Linked DNA regions of Homo sapiens: regions 2, 3 and 4 are each linked to region 1. Evidence: promoter capture Hi-C in 16 types of primary human blood cells and fetal thymus (Javierre and others, 2016). All regions are on one chromosome and are shown on one strand. Each heading gives the region's core, a stretch centred on a gene start or on the middle of the fragment in contact. The rest is flanking DNA. Distances are from core to core; before and after follow the strand shown.

Region 1 (5,400 bases), core at 287-2,786:
GTCAACTTAGAAGTTTTCTTCCTATTCTTTTATTTCCCACACCCAAGAGACTGTGATTATAACCAATGGCCAAGTAGCAAAAGAATACTAATAGGAACTAGGCAAAATACCTATCACGCTTTGATAGCTTAACTTTTTTGTGAATAAGGTTGTTTGTGGTTATTATTTTAAGTTGCATTTATAAAAGTTATCTTTCCTGCTAGGAAAAGTATTCCCAGTTCTTAAGATAGACTTGCATTTACCCACAATTCATAGTGTGGCACAAATAGCTGCCTGGCATCTGGGTGTTACACCTCCCACACAGGCCATGGTATAAACTTTATTGGGGTATTTCCATTTTTAACCTAACAAAAAATGTGGAATAACAGGTTGTTTCCCTGTGGAGGAAATATCAAGAATAAACAGGCGAGTGTGGAATCTGCGGAGGGAGGGGATTGTCTCTGGTTCCCGAAATCACGGCAAAGTACTTTCTGTGCAGGGAGGGCACAGTTTAAGAATATCTGTTGCAAAGAAAATACAGACACAAGGTAAACCAAAAACCAAAGCAAAGTTTCCCCATGACATTACCTGGAAACTACAGTCTCAGAACTACAGATTAACAAACGTAATCAATGGTACTGGGCTTTTCACAGTTTTGATGACGACAGCATGACTTCAGAGTCTAATGGGACACTATTCCCAAAGTTCTAGTTAACGTCGCAAAAATCTGACCTAATTCTTACAGGTTCAAATGTCTGGGCTGCTGGTTTGTGTAACCTGGACAAAATCGCTTCCAGGCTCTCAATTTTGCCACGAGTCACGATGACAGAGGGCTCTCCTGGCTTTTCTCACAGGCCTGAGTCCCATCTGGATTGAAGTCATTTTGCAAATAGCAGCCCACCACCCTTAGGCCAAATTTAAAATTTGTTTTGAATTTGCACCTTTCTGGTTGTGTTAAAGATTACAGATTACATGAACAAGGGCCTCCATGCCTTCGCTATCTAATTGATTTCTACAGTGTTGTTTCTTTACTGTCTTGCTCGCCCCACTCAAAGTCTCCCTCCTACACACCAGCCTACACACTTTCAGTTCTATTTTATAACCCGACAAATGCAAATTGACACACAGAGACAAATAACAACGCGGTTTGCTGAAGCAGGTTCAATCGACTGTATTGCCAATTAAAAGACCACCGGGTAAACAAGGGCCAACGACCACAGGGCAGGCCCCAGGGTTCACAAGCCCCCCCACCCCACGGCCCAGAAAGAGCTCGCCGCAGCGCCCACCTCTGCAACTCCTCCTCCTGGATCCTCTCCTCGTCCCAAACGAAGACGCCGGCTAACGCCGCCATCAAGGCAGAGGCATGGCCAGGACGGCCGTGCAGCCGGCGCCAGAGGCGGCCGAGGAGAACGCGGCGTGAGCTCTCGGAGTAGAGGCGGCCGTAGAGCTGCGCGATCTGCTGCGCGCGCCGCACGCGCAGGCCCGTGACGAAGCGGCACTGATTGGCCAGAAGCGCCAGCAGGCCCCCGCCCCGCGTCCCCGCCAGCCAGGCGGCCAGCAGCCTCCGCGGGAGCATGCCGCCTCCCGCAGGGCCCGCCGCGAGCTTCCGGGGCCCAAGGAACCAGTCCGGAGGGGCGCAGGCGGTGGTCGCAGCGTCCCCCTAAATGGCCGGCCACGAACCCGTCTCACGGTCCCGCGGCCAGGAGCCGCCGCTCATCTGTCTCTGCAGCCACCGCTGAGGAAGAGTCTCCTCTGAGGGGAGAGTCGGTCATGGCAGCAGACGCCGGGATGGCTCCGCGACTGCTACACCAGGCACTCCTGGGCCCGGGCAGCAGACCAGTCAGCCCTGTGGCTCCTCGGCGACCTCCAGCGGGCGCCCGGGGCCGGGATGCAGGGCGCGCGGACAGAAACGAGACAGACAGCTCAGGCCCAGCAGCACGCAAGCTCCCGCGCCTTCCGCGACTGCCACACGCGCGGCGCGCGCGCACCCTACTTTTTCTCCGCCACCTGGGCCGTGATTGGGCGCGACCTGGGCTCCTGGGTGCTCATTGGCGCCGTGAAGTGCTCGTCACCGCCCCCTCCTGCCCCTTCATGCATGCGCGGAGGCCGCCTGCTAGCAAGGTAGGTGGCTCGGCGGCGAGAGCCGTCAAGGGCGCATTGGAGAGTGACCCTCGGACCCGGCTGCCGCCGTCGCCGCCATCTTCCGGCCGTCCCAGCCCCGCCCCGCGGAGAAACCTGGCCAGGTTCCTGTTAGAATCCTGCCAGGTGTTAACTTGTTTTAAGAGGCCGGCACGCTGGCCCCCTTCTTTATTAGAGTGCAGGGTGGGGGCGGGGCTCCGCATGTCTCTGCGGGGGCTGGGGGCTCCCAGTGATAACCGCCATTGCAGAATTAAAACTGAGACAGTGAAAGAGATCTGACCTAACCAATTCCATCTTGCTTCTGTCCTTGTTCATTCCTGAGCTTAGGTGAACTAATTTTGGGAGGAACTTAGTTTATAGTTTAAAATAAAGAGGATAACAGCCCTTTCCCAAAACAAATCTTCTTATCTGGGAACTAGACTGCCTTTGTAGGACTAATAAGTTAGCCATAAGATTGGAAATTATGGTTTAGGAGTCATGCAGCTGGAGGCTACGATATTGTGATCCCCCTAAACTGCTCTTAAGATCAGTGCTTGAGATATTTTGCTGACCCCGCACTGGTTGGATCCTGGCACCACCCAGATGGATAAACTGGCTCATCTGACCTTGTGGCCCCCACCCAGGAACCAACTCAGTGCAAGAGGACAGCTTCAATTCCCTATTATTTCATCTCGACCCAACCAGTCAACACTCTGGACTCACTGGCCTTCCCCCACCCACCAAATTATCCTTAAACACTCTGATCCCGGAATGCTAAGGGAGACTGATTGAGTAATGTTGAAACAAACTCCAGTCTCATAGTGGGCTCTGCGTGAATTACTCTTTATTGCAGTTCCCCTGTCTTGATAAATCGGCTCTGTCTAGGCAGTGGGCAAGGTGAACCCATTGTACGGTTACAAATTTGGGGGTTCGTCTGGGATACCCCTTGTGGCTACCTGTCCATGGTTCGGTAGCCCCACCTCTGGTGACAGATCCAGAGGCCAGCCTAAGCGGCCACATAGTTCTCTTGGACTAGGGGCTAACTCTGGCACCGTCTCTGCCAGTGGGGCACTGCTAGCCCAATATGCATGGACTTAATCGCAATGGAGAAATAGTCCTGGGGAGACATCCCATAACTGTAGCCCTGTCACAGGGTATCTGTAGCTCCATAGCGGGGCGCTGTAGCCAGGTCATGGAGTGTCTGTAGCTATAGCCCCATCATGGGGTGGCAGGTTGCTGAGTATCCTAGGTGCTGCCAGTGCCTCCTTCCTTCTCCGGACTGATTCTGTAGCCACATGGTGGGTGTCTGTAGCTCCACCATGGGGTGTCTGTCTCAGTTTGGCTCCTGGGGCATCCCAGTTGGCTGTCCCTAACTAGGAAGAGTCTTGGTTCGGGAGACTTCTCAATCAGGAATATTTCAGGGAGATTTGTCAGATGGAGAATAGGAGGATAGTTTGGAAGGGGTACTCTTGGAGTTCTTGGTTAGGGACCTTAATTTGGAAGGCCTTCTGTCTGTCTTGTCTTCGTGTGTGTGTTTGTATATATGGAGGGGATCTCTGAAGGAATTGCTGATGAAAATCCAGCAGGCCTAACTTGGAGAACACTCCTTATTTATCTAGTCACATTCAGTGAGCCCTGAAAGAAGTTTAACAGGCCTGATTCAGGGTGACTGCTCAGAGACCACCCATTGAATTCACGATTCAATGACCCACCGTGCCTGGCCTTAAAAGGATTTTTTCTTAGAAAAAAGAGCTCTAGGCCGGGCATGGTGGCTCACACTTTTAATCCCAGCACTTTGGGAGGCCAAGGCGGGCGGATCACGAGGTCAGAAGATCCAGACCATCCTGGCTAACACGGTGAAACCTCGTCTCTACTAAAAATACAAAAAATTAGCCGGGCGTGGTAGTGGGCACCTGTAATCCTAGCTACTCGGGAGGCTGAGGCAGGAGAATGGCGTGAACCCGGGAGGTGGAGCTTGCAGCAGTGAGCCGAGATCGCGCCACTACACTCCACCCTGGGCGACAGAGCGAGACTCCGTCTCAAAAAAAAAAAAAACAAAGTTGACTTATAGAGCCAATAAGCCAAAAAATTGACTTATAGAGCCCCTTGGGAAATCTGGCCTCATACTATGTCAACACAGTCCCTGTACGAGGTTCCTGACCTGTGGTAAGTAAAGAATGTCACTTTCTAACAGGCTCAGGAGACCTAAGTTATCTTGACACCTCAAGAGGAGAGGAATTTACCCAACTCATAGGTATTCGAGGGTACAAACCCATGGCTGGGCTTGGCTTTAAAAAGGTCTTATCTAAGATTTCTTATGGAACAGAGTTCCATCAAAGCCAATTTTAAAAGCCTATGTGAAGGCCAGGCGCAGTGGCTCACACCTGTTATCCCAGCACTTTGGGAGGCCAAGGCAGGCAGATCACAATGTTAGGAGTTTGAGACTAGCCTGGCCAACATGGTGAAACCCTGTCTCTACTGAAAATACAAAAAGTTAGCTGGGCGTGGTGGCAGATACCTGTAATCCCAGATACTTGGAAGACTGAGGCAGGAGAATCGCCTGAGCCTGGGAGGCGGAGGTTGCAGTAAGCCACGATCGCACCACCGCACTCTAGCCTGGGCCACGAAGCAAGACTTCATCTCAAAAAAAAAAACAAAGCCTATGTGAAAAATAATTATTCTTGCTTCACTTTATGCAAATCATCAGGCCAAGTACAATAAGACTGCGGTTTATTTTGTAAACAAATCAGTTCTATCATGATTTGTTTTTAGTAAAAATGGGAACTGGAGAGAGAAAAATTATGCTTCAGAAGAAAAACTGTGGTACACCTTTTGTTAACTGTTCTTAAGTTTTTTTCTGCAGTTTGAACTAAATCCTAAATTCTTTGTGGGCTACAAGTTCCCAGGCTAATGCTTTTAAATCTTTACTTTTAAAACTGGGAACTGCACTCCTTACCCTAGTACTCATTATTTCCCTTATAGTACACGGTTCCCTTAAACACAGTACGAAAACTATAGGTGGCAATACTAATGCCTTTGCCATGCAAGCCTTCGAACCCCAGTCAGGCCTGCAGGAGTACACTCAGACAGTTGCAAAGTGGTTCCACTCCTCTCACCTTGGAGTCAACACCTACCCCTCACTACACCCCTGGTTAGTAGGAAGAAGTTAAGGTCTTTGCCCTTTTTCCATCTTCATTAACAACACCTTAAGATAAAGGTGTTATAAACCCAAAGGGAGGGATTAAAACCACCATTGCAAAATTATAACTGAGACAGAGAGATCTGACCTAACCAACTCCATCT
Region 2 (5,400 bases), core at 1,334-3,833, 500 kb after region 1:
AGCCTATTCAGTTTGGCTCCTGCGTCTCTTTACATAAACCCAGAAGTTTTTTATAACTTCCTTGCTTTTCTGGGAAGTTCCAACTTATAGATTTCCTACCTCAAACCCTGCATCAGCCATTTCTCAAGGAAGCTGCAGTTCCTTTTAGGGGGAATTGGTATTTAGAGACCACAAATCTGAGTGCTAGGGGTGCTCATTGCTACTAGGTTGGTTACTGACTGGGGCCTGGATTTCTGGTCATTTATAAGGAGAGCATCCACAGCTGCTTGGACTGCTAGAATCTTTAGCAGATTCCCAGGTAGTGAAAAACTGGATTCATCTTCTGTTGGAAAAATGTTAACTGTCAGAGCTCAGTTTAAACCATGGGACAGGATAAAAGGCCAGGGCAATGCTCCTCATGCAATGCAGGGCATTAAAGCCTGGAACGGCTGGGAAACATCCTAACTTTCTCAGCAGTTTTCAACAACCTACTATACAACAAGTAAGAGGATGGCAACAAGAAAGACCTCAAAAGAAAGAAACAACTTGCATTTAGGGATACCCTATGGGCAGAGAACACAGACTTACTAACTTGGGTATTCTCACTAAAGACCTAGGGCAAAAAACTTAGACTAAACAAAAAATTATTCTCCCCTGCCATTTCTGACAGTTGGGGACTTTCCATTAAAAAGTACGTCAGGAGGTTAACCCAGAAACCTGTAAGCTCAAAGGAAAATGTGTAGTCATATAATGAGATTATATAGCAAAGATCTCCAGCCTATGCCTCCTATCCCCCTGCCGAGACTAAATTTTTCCCACAGGTCTGGCCTGCTCGGTACTTAGAACCTAATTGCCAAAACTAATCTCTCTGCATGACAGAAAGCAGATCAATGGTTGCCTGGAATCCAAGAAGGGGAGGAATACTGCAAAGGGGGATAATAAGGCTTTTGGCAGGTGATGGAAACATTCATATCTTAATTGTGATGGTGACTACATAGGTGTAAATATTTGTCAAAACTCTTCAAACTGTATTCTTCTGTTGTATGGAAAGCACACCTCAGTAAAGTTGATTTTAAAAAAATCAGATGCCAGAGTTTTAAAGATCAGCAGATTGCATTTTAAAAATCCAGATTATCCAGGCTGGGCTCAGTGGCTCATGCCTGTAATCCCAGCACTTTCGGAGGCCAAGGCGGGCGGATCACAAGGTCGAGATGGAGACCATCCTGGCCAACATGGTGAAACCCCGTTTCTACTAAAAATACAAAAATTAGCTGGGCGTGGTGGCGCGCCTGTAGTCCCAGCTACTTGGGAGGCTGAGGCAGGAGAATCGCTTGAATACAGGAGGTGGAGGTTGCAGTGAGCTGACATGGCGCCACTGCACCCCAGCCTGGCGACAGAGCGAGACTCCATATATATATATAAAAAAAAATCCAGAATTCCAACTGCTCTTGAAAAACTGGAAGATTTAGCCTCACTGAGCTGACATTTCCTTTTAGCTACAATGGCTGGAGCTCACTAGCTGTCGGCTTTTTCAGATGGGTATCTGCCTTTCTATTTTGCCACAAGAAACTTCTATTCCAAACTAGCTTTATCCAGAACAAATTATATTAATCAAAAGAAACAGAAGTTCAGTTCCTTTTCTCTTCCCAAAAGATGTTATGATTGGGGTTCAAGCAAAGAGAGTAAGTGTATAAACGAGAAGCTACGAATCAGGCATAAGTAGAAAAAGAAACAAGAGGAGATGGAAAAGTAAAAGAACCAGGTGCTGTTAATGTCACATAAGTCAAGAAGGCAAGAGTTTCAGGGTAATGGGTTAAATGAGCTGAGGAGGACAAAGGGTGAGAACGAGAATAGAGTACTGAATATGGCAAGGAAACAGAATGACCTTTCATGAGAATGGTGTTAGTGTACTAGCAAGATAGAGCACAGGTCTGAGTCAGCATGTTAAGGAGGTGGACAGCTAGGAAACAAAAGGATCTGTACACACAACACATTCAAAAGTCTCAGCAAAAGGAGAGTCTGGGGTCAGAAGAGGGACGGCAAAGTCAAGGAAAAGCTTTGTTAAGGAAGGGGAACGGGGAACATTAGTGGTTGGAAGGAGAGGAGCCTGACAGCAGAAATCAGAAAGCAAGGAACTCACGATACAGGCTAGAAGAGCCAGCTTAATGAAGGGACAAACACTGCTTTCTATTAGCACCAACCATCTTCTAGTGACAACTGTACTAGGAAAGCCTGGCGTGGGTTTTTAAGGAATGTGGATATAAGAATGCAGAAGGAGAAGCAGTCTTGAGGCACCTCCTTCCAGAGCACCGCTCCTCTGGCTCTCCCCTGTGAGAGGCCTCAATGAAGTGTGGGTATTGAGAAGAGGCCTCAGTCAGGGCAAACCAAGAGTGCGCGTGGCAGTACCTGAGAGATCCCCAGTGATGGAGGAGGTGCCGAAGTAGTAGCCGCGGGGCAGGCGGACTCCGGGCACTTCAATGCAGTCCCTCCACTCATGCTTGCCATCAATATCCATCATTATCTAGAATAAAAAGAGAGATAAATCAGGGTCAGGCCATGGGAGCAAGAGCGACACAGCCCACACCACCATCTGGTCCAGGACAAGGACTCTCACCGTCAAATGCCTCTTGACGTAGCGAATCACCAGGAAGGTGTCGTAATGAAGATTGCGGACAATGGCTGTGCAGCCTCCCAGCTCTGTAGGCCGCCCATCCCGCTCATGATCATAGCTGAGGGAGCCGTTGTTCACCATGGCTGAGATGTAGGGGAATACCCGCTGGAAAGCAGAGAGGGGGAAGCAGACACTAAGGAAGAGCACATAGGAACGCCTGTACAAACAGCAACAGGAATTCAGCACATACAAGTTGAGCCCCTTACAGCAGAATAGGCAGCCACTCGACCTCATTGTCAGCAGCCCCTGAGAGCCCACATTCAGATGGTCTCTCAAGGGAAATGGGCCCAGGAAGCGACTACACTTGGTATTTGCCTTCAGTAATTCTCTTGGCTCCTGAACTGGGGTGGGCCTGAAGTGGTCCTCCTAAGACGCTGGAGTCTGACTTGAATGCCCCAAGGTCACCATTTGGCACTTATGTGCCGCCTAATACCAGGGGTTTCCTTTTCGTGTATATGTACCTATCTCCCCAACTGCCACATAAGCTTCTTGAAGAAAAAATTCATTCATCACGTCTTCATATGTCTAAACTTCAGCCCCATCTCCTCCCAACCATGGTTCTGCACACAGCGGGTATTCTGAAAATACCTGTTTGAGCAGGGGAATCTTTCCATTCAGGATAGCTCTTTTCAATTCTAAAATTCTATAAGCATATAAGGCTAAATGGATTAGAACTCAGAACATGGAACGGGGTTGCTGGATGGGCTCAGCCAGCCACAATGACTGTCCTTAGTCAAAAGACTTTCCAGCCCACTTAAGCCTCCTCCACACGTAACTTCTCCGAATAATAATAAGAGGGCAAGGTTCTCCCTTAACAGGGAGAAAATTGCAAGTTTTCCCATAAGCCACTCATTTTCCCATCTATTTCAGGGGCCCTCTCTCCCCAGTAGAGTTGTAGGAGCAATTCTTCCTTAGAAATGGCGAACTAATCATTCCAGAACAAGCCCAATGCCAAGGCAGTGCAAAAAGGCAGGGTAGTGAGGTGGTGAAGGGGTAACATGAGGCATGCCACTCCTTTGGGGAGTATTTGTCCCTTTGTCCCAAATGGTTAACATGCAAGATGGAGATGCAGTCGAGACCAGAGACCGGGGACTCCTGAGACAACCACATGGACTTGAAACAGCAACAAATGTTGGATGGACACATGGGAATGAGGGATGCTCATGATGAGCCAAGAACTGAGTACCTGGACTCCTGGAGAATATCGCCTCTTCTGGGCCTGAGAGGGTCCAGCAGGTTATGATAAAAACAAGAGAGGGCACAGAAGACAGGAGACCAAGTCAGAAAGACACAGCCACAGAAGAGCTATGACCCAGCTGTGATGGATGAACAAACCAACTTAAATCCCCAAACAGAATTTTAGGGTCCCTGAAGGGCATCCGTGAAGTCTTTGCACCCTCAAGATGATAGGCAAAACCATATGCACGGGTGCTTGTACATTTTTCTGAGGAGAGGGTCTGTTACTATATCAGATTCTCAAAGGGGTCCCCTAGGAAGACCGCTCTAACCCATAGAGGGTCCTGAAGCTTTTGGAAGGCACTTTATAAAACACATAGCAGTACGCTGTCCAGGCACGCCGCACTTATGTCTCTGGGAGTCAGTCTCAAGTTTGTCTGTACCCAGCCTACTGTATTTCTATAGCAAGGGGAAAGAGGAGACAACAGGGCTAAATTCTTCCAAATTCAAGACATCCTTTACTATCCAGGATCTCAGGAAACAGCTCCTGCCCAGAAGACCAAAATCTTGCCACTTGAGAGACTATGAAACTAACTCTAATCCAAAGGGATCACTTACCCTCTAACTGAGCCTTATGGTCATATATTCCCAAATAACTATTGTCATTCTAACCTACCACACATAGGCAAGGAAGAAGCTCCATGGAGGCATTGCAGAATGACAGATTTAGAAAATCATCAGGCGTGAGGGTATTAAGCTCTGCTCCAGCAAACAGCTGCAGTTCTAAGCCATTAGCGACAAGAGGTACCTACACAAGCTCAGCTCAGCTCTGCCCTGTGGGACAGGTAGGCGAGGGTACAGAACTCAAACCCTTCACTCCTTTAATACGGTGAACACCTACTACAAGCCAGGTACTGTTCCAGATGCTGAGGGTCCAAAGAGAAACAAGACAGACAGGAATGGAATTAAGATCAGAGTGGAAGAAACAAACAACAAAGAAGCAAATAAAATTATTTCAGATAGTGAAAAATGCTATAAGGAAAATAAAATAGGTAATACAAGGGATGGGCAAGGGAACCTCTCCCTGAGGAGGCAATATCTGAGCTGAGACTCAAGTAATTAGAGGGAGTCCACCAAAAGATCTGAGGGCACAAGAAGCATGAGGGTGGCACATTCAAGGAACTGGAAACAGATCAGTCAGAATCACAGCTTGTGAGAAGAGGCTGCCATGAGGCAAGGCAGCACCCACGGCACTGGGCTCCATGGGCCACAGCCAGGAGTCCGAGGCTGCAGTGCAGATCCCCTGCCGTCCTCCTCTTAACACCACTGGCAGAATTCATACAGGACACAGAAAGGCATGACATCAATCCGTGGATGATTAAACTGGCATGAAGTTAATCTTCAACAACTACCATTTAGAACAAGGAAATGGTGAGCATGTTATCAAGCAGTTTACAGAAACTGGCATCTGAGAGTATGCTCATAATTTCAGTGACAATTAAGAAAAAGGGATTAAAAATGCCCTGTGGAGCTCTGATGAGCCCAAGGCTTCCTTCACTCATCACCTCTAGTAA
Region 3 (5,400 bases), core at 1,517-4,016, 360 kb after region 1:
GGCAGACCCTGCTAACTGTCCATCTCACATCCATTTCCCACTTTGTCCTTGCTAACAGAATCCCAGCTTGGTTCAGAGCACGACCCCAGGTAACAGGACATGAGTGGTGGAGGCCTCACACGGTTTGGCCAATCATTAACAATTCTGTCCCCCACATCCCCCACCACCTTGGCAGCTAGGAGCCACATGGCCCAGCTCCAGCCAGTGAGATGTTATGGACCAAACTGTGTTCCTCACAGTCAGATGCTGAAGCCCTAACCCCTAATATGGCTGCATGTGGACTTAGGGCCTTTAACAAGGCAATTAAGGTTAAATGAGGTCATAAATAAGGTTAAATGGGGCCAAATCTGATAGGACTGGTGTCCTTATAAGAAGAGAAGACACCAGAACTCACTCTCTTGCACATGAGCAGAGAGGACGAAGCAAGAAGGCATCTGTCTGCAAGCCTAGAAGACAAGCTTCCTCCAAAACCAACCCTGCCAGCATCTTGAACTTACACTTCCGACTTCTAAAACTATGAGAAAATAAGTGACTGCTGTTTCAGCCACCCAGTCTACGGTGTTCTGTTTGGCAGCCCGAGCTGACTAATGCAAGATCTAAGGGATATCTGCTGGGAGGGACTTCCACATTCCGGGGAGCTTTATCCCATGGAGAATCACTCCCCAACGGGTGCACGGGTGCATCCTCATCAAGGAGCCTCCAACACTCACCCCACTGAATTTCAAAGCTGCCAGGGACCAGTGGCTCTTAGGTGCCTCCCGCGTTCCCCTTTTTGAATAGGAATGTCCACTGCAGTTATCCTATGCCGGTCCCACCACTGTGGTTGAACATGTCAGGGATAGATAAAAATTCCTTTTAGTTCACAAGTCTTTGGATATAGAACTACTATACTTGAGAAATTATGCCCAAGAAGCCTCATCCACATCTGGTGACATCTTCAGGTAAATGATGACATCCTGGATTTTAAGCCAATGCTGGAAAGGGTAAGGCTTCTGGGGAATCTTTAAACAGGGTGAGTATATTCTGTATATGGGACTGTAGGCAGAATAACAGCCTCCTAAAGATGTCCACATCCTAATCCCCAGGACCTATGACTATATTAGGGGGCATGGCAAAGGGGAATTCCGGTTGCAGATGAAATTATGGTTGCTGGATATGAATAGACTATCCTGGATTGTCAAGAAAATACTGGGTGGGCCCAATGTCACATGAGCGTCCTTAAGAGTGGAAGAACAAGGTGGGAGAAAGAGACTCAAAAGGCAGCAGAGGAAGGACTTGGCCCAGCATTGCTGGCTTTGAAGACAGAAGAAGGAGCCACAAGCCAAGGAATGTGGGTGCCTCTTAGAAGCTGTAAGTCAAGCAGACAGATTCTCCCCTAGACCCTCCAGCAGGAACACAGTCCTACTGACACCTGATTCTAGCGCTGTGAGACCCATACTGGACTTCGGACCTCCAGAACTGCAATATAATAAATTCGTGTTGTTTTAGGTCACTAGGCTTGTGGTAATTTATTAGAGCAGAAATAGAAGACTAATACAGTGAGGGGTGTAAATAATCTGTGGCCAGCAGGCAGACTGTGGTAGCGGAAAATATGCCCACAAAATCTTGTACTCCTTTCAGAAAGTGGAGCCTAATTCCCTTCCTCTTGAGTGTGGGCTGGAATTAGTGACTCATCTAACTAATGAACTGATAAAATAAGGCAGAAGTGATGGTGTGTGACTTCTGATACCAGATCACAAAAGGAGCAGCTTAATGGAAGTCTGGGACAGCTCCCCATGCCATCGTGGGCTCAGAAATGGACGTACTAACTTAGGGACACCCATGTCAAACAAAGACCACACCAACAGCTTATGAAAACCAATGAGTGATTTGGAAATGATCAGAGGGATCTGATGAATGGTTTGTTTTACAACTTACATCACTTGGCAAGCAGTTTTATAAGAAATAGTTGTCCCTCAGTATACATGGGGAATTGGTTCCAGGACTCTCCCCCCATACCAAAATCCGTGCATGGCCAAGTCCAGAAGTTTGCCCTGCAGATCCCTCCTATATAAAAATTCTGCCCTCTGACGAGGCGAGTTTTTGCATCTTGAGAATACTGCATCTTCCACCTGTATTTGTTTGCAGATAGGGAATCAGTAAATACCAAGAGCCGACTACATCTTTTGAAAAAAATCAAAATATAAGCGGACCCAAGCGCTTCAAACCCATGTTGTTCAAGGGTCAACTGTGTTTATATTATTTAGAGAATAAAAAATATATATTTTATATTTAGATTATTGTAGTTATTACATATTTGACCATCACTCCTATGTAAATATTTCTTCCTTTCCAAACCCCTTGTTTCATCCCCTTCCTTTCCTTTTAAGCACTGGTCTCTGTGCACAGAATGCCAGGGATAGACTAACACAAACTGTCGTGAGAAACAGAAAGAAAAGCTGGCTGCTTCTCAGCACTTGTCAGTGGGACAACACAGGGCCATCCTTTGCCCTTTTTGGGAAGAAGGGAGGTCCTGAGAGTAGCCTTCTATGCAAATTGAGAACTTTGAGAAGTGGGTTGGTGGAATGATGTCCCTGTCCCTCTGAAGCAGGGTCCAGTCTCAGTGCCACAGTGCCCACCATGGAAACATGGCCCCAGGCCCATGACACTAGGACATGTCTCCTGCCTGGTTCCCTGGAGGGCGAGGCTGGGCCGTGACCGCCAGCTGTAGCATTCAAGTCTGGAAGCCTGGACCAACAATAGGTTTTGTGCCTGGTTTTGTGTGAATTTGCATCAACCTTGTTGCAGACTCCTTGACGCCTTCCCCTTCAAACACAGATGCCTGAGCCTTGGCCAGCTGATCAAATGCTTCTTTTGATCACTGACATCTTTGTGGCTGCAGTAGCCAGCCCATGGCCATCTCCAGAGTGGTCCAGTACTACCCGACCCCTGCCAGGGAGGGGCACCATCTAACTGGACTAATGGCGCTCAGTCAGGGTCATCGCTGTGCTCCGGGGAGACCCTGCATATCCCAGAGGATCCTAAATGTTTTCTGGAGTTGGAGAGAATTCCGAGAATCCTCCTCATAAATCCTTCTTTGGATATAAGCTAGCCAGATGTCGTTTCTGCCATTTGCCACTCCAACACCATCAGCCAGATATCCAGGTGTCCCAGATGGTGAACATTCAAGAGCCCCAGCCATGGGTCCAGGCAGCAGAGGCACGTCTATGGAGATAGGCTGGGCCTTGTCCCCTGCCAAGTCAGTGATGAGTGGGAGGACTCACTGGCCCTTGCACTGAGCAAGGCCACCTGACAGGCCAGCCTAATCACCCCCCTGTGGCCAATATAAGGATATTGATCTTTAGTGGCCAGAATCTCTCCTCCATCACTTTTTATGTATTTTGTTGTTGGTGGTGGTGGTGGGGTGTGTGTGTGTGTGTGTGTGATTTTCTGCCGAGTCCTTCATCTTGGATCCTCCACCACTTTTGCCAAGGAACACCTTCCAGCTCACAGGTAAGGGAAGAACTCTTTCCAGACAATAAGTCAGGAACCTCTGACTTGTGATGAGGAGAGGAGGGCTTGCCACATAGTGTAGAATTTAAGTCACTCCAGAATTTTCAGGACGATGGCTTTGGATCCAGCTACACTCAAGAACTAGGACCAAGAAGCAGATCTGATTGGTATTCCCTAGGGAAAACCTAGCCGTCATTTGCATGCAAACAATGCCTGGCATGTACGAGGCAGCCCTTTCAGGCTTCTCTGCCCCGTTGTTGGGCCCTGTCAAACCTGTGCTTGTATAGAAAGCAATGGGATGCTAAATCAGATAGAGTGGGATTAGAATTTGCATGAGAGAAAGGGAAAGGGAGGGGCAGGAACGAGGGAGAGAGCTGAAATCTGTCCTCCCTAGGAGAGTGGCTTCCATTGACAGGCAGGGAGAATGAGGGAAGGTCATCAGAAACACCAGATGCAAGTCTGTCACTGATGGCTACCCAATATCCTTGAGGGCATCTGGACCGCCCCCATTTTGGTCCTTTCCTATATTTTGAGTACCATCTTCCCAAGGGACAAGCTATAAAAACCTGCATTCCCAAACTCCCTTGCTGCCATTGAGCAGGCATGTGACTGAGATACCAACCAATCAGACATGCACACAGACTGGCAAAGGAGACACTGGAGGAAGTAGCCAAATGGATTTAATGGCCCAGAGGTCATGTCCTGATGGGTGAATGACAGCACAGCATCTAGTTTTCTATTCTTCTCTGCTTGTCTATTTGAACTCAAATTAATTCAGAATTTGTACCCTCTGGGAAAAGAAAAACTCACTGATATGAAATGTTTGAAAACTGTGAGTTTTCTTTGTTTATGCTTTTATTTATTTATTTATTTATTTATTTATTTATTGAGATGGAGTCTCACTATGTCGCCAAGCAGGAGTGCAGTGATGCAATCTTGGCTCAATGCGACTTCCACCTCCCAGGTTCAAGCAGTTTTCCTGCCTCAGCCTCCCAAGTAGCTGGGACTACAGGTGTGCACCACCATGCCCAGCTAATTTTTTAATATTTTCAGTAGAGACAGGGTTTCACCATGTTGGCCAGGATGGTCTCTATCTCTTGACCTTGTGATCTGCCCGCCTCGGCCTCCCAAAGTGCTGGGATTACAGGTGTGAGCCACCGCGCCCGGCCAAAGATGTGTTTTATCAGAATACTTTCCTATGCTTTATGTTGACTTTACCATGTCCTTAAGTAAGAAGAGAAAGTCTTACCACTTTTATAAAGAGCTAAGGTTCTTTACAATCATGTTACCTCCCATGTTTACTTTTAAAATATTTTCATTGTCACTTTAGCTAAATGGGGTAGCTAAGTATTGTTTCTCAGTAATCTATGACCCTAACTTAAGTATTCAAACCTCCTGACAGCTTTTGATATTCTACCTTTCCCAAATCAAATCCTAAATGGTATCTTTCACACCTACAACTGTCTTTGAGATTTCCCAGAGGGTCCCTGGAAAATCACTTAGGATTTGTTCTTTCACCTTGTAAAAGGAGAGGTACTAGAAGTAATTCAGCTTATCAGATATGTTATTAATAAATTGCATGGGAAGCTTTTGAGGTAGGAGGCAGGATTAGACTCTGGGGGTGGAGACTTGGACAAGAACGAGATTGAAGACTAGCTAAAACAGGGCCAGCGCAGAAGCAGCTTTCCATAAGACTGGCACACCCAAAGGTTACTGCCCCTTTCTGTGGCAACCACCCAACGACCCAGAAGTTACCACTCTTTTCTAGAAATGTCTGCATAACCCACCCCTTAATTTGCATATAATTAAAAGTGGGTATAAATACGACTGTAGAACTGCCTCTAAGCTGCTACTCTGTGCACACTGCCTATGGGGTAGCCCTGCTTTCTAAGGTGCAGCACTTCTGCT
Region 4 (5,400 bases), core at 1,642-4,141, 320 kb after region 1:
TGGGTGGATCACTTGAGCCCAGGAGTTCAAGACCAGTCTGGGCAACATAGCAAGATCCCACCTCCATAAAATTTTTTAAAAGATTAGACAGGCATGGTGGTGCATGCCTATGGTCGTGGCTGCCTGGGAGGCTGAAGTGCGAGAATCACCTAAGCCTAGGAGTCCAAGGCTGCAGTGAGCTGAGATTGCACCACTGCACTTCAGACTGACCCTGTCTCAAAAAAAAAAAAAAAAAAAAAACAGAGAGATGCTCCCAGCTTTCTTCCAGGAGCGAGGTATTCCCTTCATCCCTTGGGATTAACAGTCAATGCCACCCCCTCTAAGCCACTTATTGTGATATTGACATACTTCAGTGTCAGTACTAGGGACTGCTCCAAGTCCCAGCATGGCTGGGACCACCCTGGTGCCTTCCCCCTCTTCAGACTCCCCAGCAATGTGACAACTGAGTGGGGGGTGACACTAGGTCCTCTGGTAGGTCAGGAGCTGTAATGACCCAGTCCTGCCGGGCCACCCTGTAGCATCACGCTGTGGCAGGGAGGCAGGGATTGCAGGCACCTGAGTCCTCCTCACACGCTCAGCTGACCCCGCAGGTCCCTGACCTAGGCTGTGTTTGGTGCCTGTCCTTGCATATGGCGGGCAGCAGCCAGGCTTTGTGTGCAGCACTGTGTCACAGCCGTCTCGCTGTCTGCAGGACTGTTACCGGTGACAGCAGCTATGTGCCTGGCCCTTCTGGGAGCTCAGGAGGGTCCTGCTTACAGGGCGAATTTTGTGCTGAGACAGCTGAGAGGCCAGGTGTTCTGGGCGGCCCAGGAAAACCAGCCGTCAGCATCTCCTGCCCACACCTGTCCTGAGGTCAGAATGAACTTGAGTCCAGCAGGCTCCCAGAGCCAGAGAGCTTCTGCACCTGCAAAGCCCGGCTCCCTGCTTCAGACTGAAGGTGGGGACCTGAAGAGAATGCATACAGGCACCTCAGACTGGACACAGGGGTTGCGGGGGGAGCGGAGGGGAGCCCCTGGGCCCACCCCACCCACTCCACCCTGGCAATTCAGCTTGAAACAAATGATTAGCCTCTCTGTATAGATCCATGTTTCTCTCCTGGGCATGTCGGTTCGGTAAAACCCCGTTCATTTGGGCCTCACTGTGACCTCTAGGACGCTGGCCAAAGGGCAAGCGCCGCCAGGCCAAGGGGCCTGGGAGTGAAATCGTGGGTGAGGATAGGTGACAGGGGTGTTGAATCGGCCCGAGCGGTTCTTTCTTTTCGAGTTAATTTCGCATTGGTCTCTAGGATGCAAGCTTGTCCAACGCGTGGCCCAAGGGCGGCATGTGACTGAGGAAGGTTTTGAATGCGGCCCAAATTCATAAAGCTTTCTTAGAACACTGAGGTATTTTCGCGATTTTTTCTTTTAGCTCACCGGCTGTCGGTAGTGTTAGTGTATTTTACGTATGGTCCAAGACAATTCTTCAACTTCAAAAGACGGAACGCCCCTGCAATGGGACGCCAGACACCTCTAAGAGTGGGTGTAGGCCTCCAAAAGTGTCCACATGATACTTCCAGAAAAACTTCACATGCGGAGGTGTGCAGGAATGTGCGTGCTGCTAGAAAAGAGGCCTAAGGGGTCTGCCCAACGTCCTGAGAACCCGAGAGAGCAGGGCCCGCTGGGACAGGCAGGGGAAGGCCTCGGGAGGGACACGACGGTCCGGCAGCAGAGCCTGCGGGGCTGGAGGAGGCGCCCTCCTCTCAGCTGCTCTTCCTGCCCCTTTCGGTGGCGAAGATGGATGGGGCCCGGGGCTTTCGGCGGGGCCCGAGGGGCCGGCGAGGCTGCGGCCCTGGAGCCCCCTGCCTGGCAGCCATTTGGGCCCCAGGGAAATATCGGCGCTTTGGCTAACCGAATTATTCTTTCGGTTTGAGCCAGCTCCCCTTTTTGAGTCAGATCCGGCGGCAGGGCCAGAAAAGCGCTTTCTGAAACCCCAGCGCGGTCCTCGGTGGGGGTGGAATGGGGTGGGGTGGGGGGCGCGGCCGCGCCGCTGGGCGCCCTCCCCGCCCTCCCCCCTCCCCACCCCCAGTCCTCCCTCCGCTGCCCGCCCCCCAAGCCCGGTGTCGCCCCCTCCGCCCCCTGCCGCATCCCCGGAGCCAGTGCCCACAGGGGCCAGGCAGCCCGCAGGGGTCGCTCACGGCTGGTGTAGGGGCTTGGTCCACCACGCTAGTACTTCGGGCACCAAAATAGAAAAAGAATAACGCTTGGAAAGAATCTGATGTTTCCGAAGGAGCATCGAAAATCGCCGTTACGGGAAAAGTAAAACTCTTGAGGGACTTCCTTACACTAATTTAACTGTCCCGGGTTGTTTTTATTTCTAATTGTGCTGGGGGGATGGGCATCATGATCTGTTTTCAGGGCTTAATGCCCCCTCCACGGTCCCTGGGGGACCTCTGGCCTTGGTGCCTCTCCAGGACATCCTGATGTCTCCGAGGTCCCATTTCAACTCCCTGGGGTCCCGGGCTGCCCAGCTGTTATTTTGCAGAATTTCTCTCCCACAGTGTCACCAGTAGTTCTGCTTATCGCTCCTGCCACTGAGTCACAAGGGGAGGAGGGGATTTCTGAGCTGTTTCAACACTTACCCAGAATATTAGGGGTTTCATGCAGCCCTTGTTTATTTAAAAAAAAAAAGAAAAGAAAGAAAGAAAAGAAAGCCCCAAAGCCAACAAAATATGACACACACGTACAGAAGGAGGGAAGGCAAGGGGGTGGGGGCCTTGCAGAACCAAATGGCCTATCTGCTGAGCTGGGGCTGGAGCTGGAAGTCAGGTTTCCTGTCCCCACTCCCCCAGCCTGGGCCCACCCCGTGCCTTCTGTTTCACCCAGGGCTGTGGAAACCAGCTAATGTTTATGGAGCACTTCCTCCCGCCAGCGGGCACAGTTCTAAGCCCTTTATAAGAAATAGCTCATCCAATGCCCGTAACTGCACCCGGAGGCGTGAGGGCTGTTATTGTGCCTGCCAGCCGGTTTCATAGATAGGAGACAGCACGGAGAGTTCAACTGCACTGGGGTACTTGGGTTTCCTGTGGAGAAAAATTTGCCCATCGCTTTGGCACAGAATCTGTGCCAAGACAGATTCTCAGCCAAGGCAGGCCTCAGAGTCCCCAGAGTCCAGCTACAGGATGCCCAGAACCTCCCTCCAGCTGAGACAAGCTGGCCAGGGGCTTGGGACCTCTGAGCTCCTTGGGGAGCTGAGGGGGCGCTGTCCTGGAGTCCAAGACCTGGGCTGTGTTCACTACCCCTGGCCAGGATTCAGCAGCAACACAGATAACCAGGAAAGGGGCTGTGGCCTGAGCAGCCAGCCTGCAGCCATAGGGAGGGTGTGACTCCAGCGAAACTCCAGCAAGAAGGGCCGCATGTGAGGTCAAGTCCCCAGCATCTAGAATGTGCTGCCCTTGACAACTAGGAAGCGCTAACCCCTGGGGAAGAAAGGGCAGATGTTGCCTGGTGATGGAGGGAGATGTGGGATAGGGGTGGAGGTGGGTGCATGGCCTCTTCCTCCTCCCTCTCCTCCGTGCCCTTCATTCTCCTTCTGTGGATCTTCATTGAGCACCTACTGTGCACCTGCCCTCAGTGGCCTCTCACTTCCTCCTCTTCCTTCCCAATTCCTTTACCAACTGTGAGATCTTTTGAAGCGACTGTGAGACCTTGGATAAGTCCCTTCCCACTTAGACCCTCAGTTTCCTCTTCTGGAGGAGCAGTGGCCGGGGTTCTGCGGCCCTTTCAGCAGCGTAGTGTGGGCAGATAGTAAAGACCACTCCTAGCTGGAGACGAGAGGCTCGGGAGCTGCTGGCCAGTCACACAATGGCATGGGGCTGACCACAGGAGCACGATGTGGCACATGCCCTGCTGGAGGTGTGTGTTGAGACCCCTGGGTATCTGCCTCAGGTGGGCCCTTGAAGGATGAGCAGAAGCTCACTAGGTAAATACAGTGGGAACTGCCAAGCCCGGGAAGGTTCCTCCAGGCCAGAGGGTATAGCCCATGCACACACACAGCTCCAGAAACAGCACCAGGCACTGGGGCAAAGCCCTCCCAGTGTGGCTATATTGCCGTATGTGCCAGAGAGGGGGGATGCCAACCTACCTCCATGTCCAGAGCTGTCTTTACCCAGGCCCAAGGCCCAGCCCTCTGCCTTCAGCCTCCACGCAGCCCTCTGTCTTCAGCCGTGGCCACTACCACTCAGGAAGGTCTGGAAGAGCCTGCTGAGGCCAAGGCAGAGAGAGCGAAGGCAGTTTTAACAGAGCAGAATCCCTCAGGCAGGCCCCATGGCTGAAGACACCATGGCATAGGTGGGCAGCTGGGGTGAGGGAGGGGGGCTGGACAACCCTGTGTCCTCTTCTAGGAGTCCAGGGCAGGCCAGGGTGCCCCAGATGTGGGGAAGAAAAAGCTTCAGGGGCTTCTTGTAGGCTCTCTGGTGAGTTAGTGTATACATATGTTTGTGTGATCCTATGTGTGAGCTGTGGGCTCCTGGCAGGCAAGACCCATGCATAGATGCACAGGCGTGTGTACACAGCTTTGCACACTCACATCTGGGCGTGCAGCAGCAGAAAGGATGCACAGCAGGTGCGGGGAGAATGAGAGAGCTCTTGGGGTGTAGACAGAACCACGTATACCTGGGTTCACCTTGGGTTCTCCCTGCCAGGTACTGTTTCCAACAAAGGTAGTTGGGATGTCAGGCAGGGAGGGTAGCCCTGCCTGTGGCAGGTGCCTGGTGGATGATACCACGATGATGAAAGCAGGGGCCTGGGCTTCAGGTCGGGGCTGCAGTGTGGGGGAGCCACAGCAAGAGTATGAAACCTCTGGGGGATCTGGGTTCTTGGAGCCAGCTGACCCCAGGCCATTGCAAGGCTGAAAGCTTTAGTTTTCATATTCGCAAAGTCCCATGAGTTCATCTGGGGAGGAGGAATTAGAGCAGTCCCTCCCCCAAAAGCCTGGGCTTCCAGTATTGAAGGGGTTAGTGGGGCCTACTCAGATTGGAGATGAGTCACTGACTTCCCCCATAATTCCTCCCTTCATGCCCGCATCCTGGCCAGAGCCTAGGACCCCACCAGGAACCTCGGGAGGGCTTTGCAGCTGCTACCCAAAGACCTGGAAAGCCCGATCGGGAGTGGGGTCTCAGGGCCCAGCCCCAGGTCATCAGGGCAAGGCCTGAAGAGTGCAGAATCCACCCTGCAGAAGTTCTGATGCCACCGGCGAAGGAGGCTGTTCTCAGGTAGCTGCCACAATAGAATGACCAGTTGTTGAAGGCTTATGTTATTTCTCACCCTCACAGTAATCTTGCAAGCTAGGTATTGCTAACGCCATTTCACACGGGAAAACTAAGGGTTGGAGACAGTGAATAACCCATCCCAGGTCATACTACCT

Evidence for each region. Contacts are between HindIII fragments. The CHiCAGO score rates a contact against its expected background, and 5 or more counts as called.
Region 2: a contact is called between a fragment that was not itself captured here and the fragment with the promoter of STARD7-AS1 in region 1, in 1 of 17 cell types (naive CD8 T cells). The highest score is 7.0, in naive CD8 T cells.
Region 3: a contact is called between a fragment that was not itself captured here and the fragment with the promoter of STARD7-AS1 in region 1, in 3 of 17 cell types (naive CD8 T cells, naive CD4 T cells and total CD8 T cells). The highest score is 6.7, in naive CD8 T cells.
Region 4: a contact is called between a fragment that was not itself captured here and the fragment with the promoter of STARD7-AS1 in region 1, in 2 of 17 cell types (total CD8 T cells and activated CD4 T cells). The highest score is 6.1, in total CD8 T cells.

Annotation. Positions count from the first base shown.
Region 1 is chr2:96,206,880-96,212,279 of GRCh38, forward strand. STARD7-AS1 (STARD7 antisense RNA 1) reads left to right here and starts at 1,537. Exons shown (of 4, transcript NR_046322.1): 1 at 1,537-2,100. STARD7 (StAR related lipid transfer domain containing 7) reads right to left here and starts at 1,948. Exons shown (of 8, transcript NM_020151.4): 1 at 1,266-1,948. The coding sequence starts at 1,555. RefSeq lists silencers at 1,365-1,624, 1,975-2,194 and an enhancer at 1,642-2,232. The HindIII fragment of the contact is 17,331 bases long and covers 1-5,400 here.
Region 2 is chr2:96,709,271-96,714,670 of GRCh38, forward strand. It overlaps LMAN2L (lectin, mannose binding 2 like), which reads right to left. Exons shown (of 8, transcript NM_030805.4): 5 at 2,594-2,755; 6 at 2,386-2,500. Among named protein-coding and RNA genes, the nearest start is that of LMAN2L, 28 kb to the right of the region's middle. The HindIII fragment of the contact is 1,100 bases long and covers 2,034-3,133 here.
Region 3 is chr2:96,561,540-96,566,939 of GRCh38, forward strand. No RefSeq gene overlaps it. Among named protein-coding and RNA genes, the nearest start is that of ARID5A, 27 kb to the left of the region's middle. RefSeq lists enhancers at 2,769-3,269, 3,340-3,840. The HindIII fragment of the contact is 4,621 bases long and covers 457-5,077 here.
Region 4 is chr2:96,525,615-96,531,014 of GRCh38, forward strand. It overlaps LOC105373496 (a long non-coding RNA gene), which reads right to left. Exons shown (of 3, transcript NR_135564.1): 2 at 4,120-4,235; 3 at 2,326-2,569. Among named protein-coding and RNA genes, the nearest start is that of ARID5A, 8.4 kb to the right of the region's middle. RefSeq lists silencers at 1,586-1,925, 2,076-2,175 and enhancers at 3,036-3,185, 5,396-5,400. The HindIII fragment of the contact is 3,059 bases long and covers 1,363-4,421 here.